2 separate regions of the Homo sapiens genome follow, and region 2 is linked to region 1. The links are contacts of gene promoters, found by promoter capture Hi-C in human tissues and cell types (Jung and others, 2019). All regions are on one chromosome and are shown on one strand. Each heading gives the region's core, a stretch centred on a gene start or on the middle of the fragment in contact. The rest is flanking DNA. Distances are from core to core; before and after follow the strand shown.

Region 1 (2,555 bases), core at 56-2,555:
AAGGTCGGATTCACGTGAAATTAAAAGGGCAACGAAAGCCAGAACTTAATTTCTTAAAAAAAGTTAAAACAGGCCGGGTGCAGTGGCTCATGCCTGTAATCCCAGCACTTTGGGAGGCCGAGGCTGGCGGATCACAAGGTCAGGAGTTCGGGACCAGCCTGGCTAACAATGGTGAAACTCCGTCTCTACTGAAAATACAAAAATTAGCCGGGCGTGGTGGCGCGTGCCTGTAGTCCCAGCTACTAGGGAGGCGGAGGTTGCAGTGGGCCGAGATCGCGACACTGCACTCCAGCCTGGCCGACAGAGCAAGGCTCCGTCTCAAAAAAAAAAAAAAAAACAGTTAAAACCCTCAAAATAATCCCACTTGTTAAAATACAAAACCTGAAACCATTTCAGTTTCTTCTGCAAAATGAGTTGGAGAGAGTAGGGTTGAACCAGGCATGCTCTTTCGGGCCTTTCGACGCTGACATCCCGGGATATTACACCAGGTTCAAGATACCAGCTTGCGGAAAGAGAGCTGCTAAACTTGACCATATGCTTTTTGCACGACATTCGACAGCTGTCCCTCCCTTCACCAGCTCTTTTAAGGCTGCAAATATATCTGATTCACGTGAGAGTCCCTACAAGTTAGTACAACGTCAGGCCCCAAGGAGGCGCCCAATAAATGTTGGCATTGCAGGGCCAGATCCCGAGTTCCAGTTCAGAACCCTGCTGAGGTCAGGCTTCCTCCCTGCCTCCCGCCCCTCACCACACCCACTCACTCCCCCAAGTAATTAAGTCTAAACTGGGGCCTGTGCAGTGATTGGCCGCGCCGGGTCTCACTGCGGATGAACTTGACTTGTTCCAATGATCTGTGACAGACATCTGCAGACAGCGCCCTTAACAGAATTAGGGTCAGGCTGGTATCAAACCCCAGGAACGCCAGGCATTGCCTCAAAGTAGATGCAAACCGTTAAATCTTCCAGGACTCAGAAGGACCAGAGAGAGCCGGATACCTCTGGTTAGCTACGCGGTCCCCAGTAAAGCTTATTCCCCTCTTCCTCCCAGTGTGTCTTGTTGCCAGAGCAACTGTGGGCGTCACCGAGCTGACGGGCGGAAACAGAACAGAAAGAGTACACGTCCCCAGCTCATTGATAGGGCCATTGCGCAGACGCATTAACTTTTCTGAGTTGTAGTTGAGTCTGTTGATGCAGTCCGCGTCTGCGCATTAGTTGTTACGCGCCCTGGCCGGCCTCAGCGCCTGCGCAAATTGGCACACCGGGGAGGGCGGAGTTAGGTCACGAGGGTGCGCATGCGCAAACAGCACATCCGGTGTGGTCGACGGGTCCTCCAAGAGTTTGGGGCGCGGACCGGAGTACCTTGCGTGCAGTTATGTCGGCGTCGGTAGTGTCTGTCATTTCGCGGTTCTTAGAAGAGTACTTGAGCTCCACTCCGCAGCGTCTGAAGTTGCTGGACGCGTACCTGCTGTATATACTGCTGACCGGGGCGCTGCAGTTCGGTTACTGTCTCCTCGTGGGGACCTTCCCCTTCAACTCTTTTCTCTCGGGCTTCATCTCTTGTGTGGGGAGTTTCATCCTAGCGGGTAATGGTTCTATAAGTGATCATAATAATAATGTGTTACTTTGGTGTGCTGCTTTTGTTTTCATAGTACTCTATATCAGACCACCGCCCCTTGAAGTTATGAGAAGAGCCTGCATTGCCCTTTTGTTGTGAATGGGGAAATTGAGGCTCAGAAAGCTTAGATTATATGCCTAATACCAAACGGCTCCGTAGGAGTTGGACTTAAAAGTCTAAAGAAACCACCTTCGTGCCGCTACTCCACTTGGTGATCCACTTCACTTAATATTGGTCCGGGGAAAACCCTATTCCAACTTTAACTTAGGTTTAACACAACTCTAAAATTAGTAGACTTTTCAAATGAAAAACCCAACCTTGAATCATCTCTGTCATCTTGGCCTAATCATTACCAATCTCCGGTGAAACGTTTCAATGAAAGTGCAAAGAATATAAATACTGGTGCTTTTCTTGTTGAATCATCCTTTACTTGATTTTGCCTTTTAGCTGCTACTACTTTTTTTCTTGTTGAGGAAGCTGTTATTTCACTGTCCTGAACCCAATTTTTGTTCACATAACTCTATTTTAGCCTTATTTTTCCTTTTGATTCCAGGATTTGGTAACCTTGTAGACTGCTATATTTAGCGAGAACAGTCTCCATCAATTTTTGTTAAAATCTGACTTTTCTTGCCCAACGGGGATTCAGTGAATACTGAAAACAGGCGTGGCCTCTATCACTGGTATCACCTGCTACTTTGACTTTGAAAACATGCCAGCATTCATGGTTTCTTTTCAGTGTGATCATCAGTCAGGTCATCAGTTGTATTTTCAGTCCAATATGAGGCATTATGGTAAAAGCTTTGGCACATGTTCTTTATCCGTAAAGAGTTTATGGTCTAGTTGGGGTACAGACAAAATACAGCATTGGAATTGTCTGGAGGCCTGGCACAGTGGCTCATGCCTGTAATCCCAGTACTTTGGGAGGCCGAGGTAGGCAGATC
Region 2 (2,555 bases), core at 29-2,528, 260 kb after region 1:
TATACATCTGTTCACTGAGCCATTATTTCAAAATTTCAAGAATATGCGCAGGCTGGGCCTTTTCAACACTTCCCTGAAACATAGCTCAGTGTGATGAGATCAACAAGCAACTTACATTTTAGTAGGTGACAATAGGGAATAAAAAAAGACTCAATTTTTCTGTTGAGCAATTCTGACTTGCACTTGGTGACAACTGCTGATTGATGAGCTCCTGCTTGCATGGGCCAGTTCACCAAGAGAATCAACACAGATGTGTACAAGCAATGTAGGGAGTGGGGTGTCCATTCTCTTTTGAAGCAATCCCATTTTGGGGTTAGATTTATAATGTTTGTGTTTTTTTATTTTATTTTATTGGCAACAGTGGCTCCTGTGAGGTTTCTAAGAAAGTGCAGAATGAATGTGAATCCTTGAAAGTCAGTTGTTCAGAAATTCCAAAACATATGCTGGTCAATGGGTTTGATGTCAAAGCAGAAATGATTGATAGAGAGGAGGACATTTCCTAAGGCAGCAGCACGCAGTCTAACTCTTTTGAGTGCCCTTGAGGGAGACCAATTTGCAAGGCTGGTATTTACTATTTCATTTGACTTGGCTGTGGCATTTACATAGTAATGGTTTCAGTTCAACTTGGGAATGTTATTTTAAATCCTATACATGCTGCATATAAAAGTGTCTAAATGAGTTATCTTATGTGCTTACTGTTTCTCAATGTTTGTTTGCATGCCTATTTGAAGCTGCTGTTTGCCAGTCACTGCCTTCATTGTAATATACTGTCATCGAGGTCCCCTAACAGAGAATGTGGTCCTCTGGTACCTCTAGTGACAAACTCCCATATTTGAGGGTTACACCAAGTTCCATACTAATCCAAGCTATTTCTTATAGCAAGTATCCAGGTGAGTGGTTTACAGTTGTGACATTTTGGTCTTGGAAACAGCACACAGCCCTAGTTAGGCCTGAGGGGATATGTAATACACGTGAATGTCATTTGTCATTTATGTAGGGGCAGAGGAATGCTTGAGTTCGCTATCTGGTGAATAGAGATGTAGCGGGTAAATGTTTTGTAATTTACTCAGATGTTCAATCCAGGATAGCTTTATTTTCTATAACAGCCTAATTTCTAACTCTGGTAACCACTTTGCGTGGTGTCAGAAAGCTTGCTTTAAGTAAATACAGGGTTTTCTCAGTAAAATCATGACTTTCTAAGTCAATTCAGGATGTCTTCCATCAGTTCAGATTTCCTCCTCGCCATCCTTGGGGTGGAATGTAGAGGCCTTAACTGGTGGTCTGGCATTGGTTGGGGACACCTGGCCCATACTGGCATCTGTTGGGGTGCAGTGCTTAGGGTCCAGTCTGGGACATTATTGTTTCTAATGTCCTGATGTCTGAGTCCCTGTAGGTCTCTGGCTGTTAATCTATATGCTCTGCATCCTTTTTATTATAATATTGACACCCATCCAGGTCCACTAAGTCTCTCTCTGTTAATTTCTATGCTTTTTGTGTGCATGCAAAAATTCAACTACTCTAATTCCAGTCTGGCAGAATGGGGCTGTCTTGGGCTTTCTGGGCCTATTGGCACTACTGCACAGCTGTCTCTGCCCTGGTGGAAATTTGCAGGATACTGTCACTCAGTCTTTCTGAGAGGAATTAGTTGTCAATCTCCTCTAGTTTCAGATTCCTAACATCCTATTTGGGGGCTAAAAATTGCCTCCTCCCACCCCACTGCTGGGAGGGTATGTGGAGATGGGCAGAGATCTTCACTGATGTCTTACTTTCTTGCTTTTGTCTCCATCACCCCAGAAATTCCCAGAAACTAAGAAATTTGCATTAAATCTAGGGTTGCATAATTGGTTTTTGTATTCAGATATATTCTAAGAGAACTTTTTGAGGCATAGATTTATTTTTAAACTCAAAAGTCGTAACCCAAACTCAAAACCCCTTTTTTCCATTCTATTGTCTCCAGAGGAATTTTCAAATTTATCCTTTCTTCTTTTGTGTTCATTGTGAACTCCCTTTTCCAATATAGGAAGGAGACCAGGACTTCCTGAGCTGCTGGCCTAACATGAGAATGATAACAAAGCAAAAAAGTATTTTCAGAAATAAAATACACATCTCTTTGTTGCTGGAAAGGGGTCCCAATCCAGACCCTAAGAGAGGGTTCTTGGATCTCACGCAAGAAAGAATTCAGGGTGAGTCCATATAGTAAAGTGAAAGAAAGTTTATTAAGAAACTAGAGGAATAAAAGTATGGCTACTCCATAGACAGAGCATCCTTGAGGGCTGCTGATTGCCCATTTTTATGGTTATTTCTTGATTATATGCTAAACAAGGGGTAGATTATTCATGCCTCCCCTTTTTAGATAGGGTAACTTCCTGACATTGCCATGGTATTTGTAAACTGTCGTGGCACTGGTGGGAGTGTAGCAATAAGGATGACCAGAGGTCACTCTTGTCGCCATCTTGGTTTTGGTGGATTTTAGCAGGCTTCTTTACTGCAACCTGTTTTATCAGCAAGGTCTTTATTACCTGTATCTTGTGTCAACCTCCTTTCTCATCCTGTGA

Evidence for each region. Contacts are between HindIII fragments. The study calls those that stand out against the background at their distance.
Region 2: a contact is called between a fragment that was not itself captured here and the fragment with the promoter of DAD1 in region 1, in 1 of the 25 tissues and cell types used here (bladder).

What each region holds. Positions count from the first base shown.
Region 1 is chr14:22,587,974-22,590,528 of GRCh38, reverse strand. It overlaps DAD1 (defender against cell death 1), which reads left to right and starts at 1,305. Exons shown (of 3, transcript NM_001344.4): 1 at 1,305-1,582. The coding sequence starts at 1,372. RefSeq lists enhancers at 1,025-1,666, 1,667-2,308. The HindIII fragment of the contact is 2,964 bases long and covers 1-2,075 here.
Region 2 is chr14:22,330,870-22,333,424 of GRCh38, reverse strand. It overlaps TRA and the pseudogene LOC100420343. Among named protein-coding and RNA genes, the nearest start is that of TRD-AS1, 150 kb to the left of the region's middle. The HindIII fragment of the contact is 6,283 bases long and covers 1-2,555 here.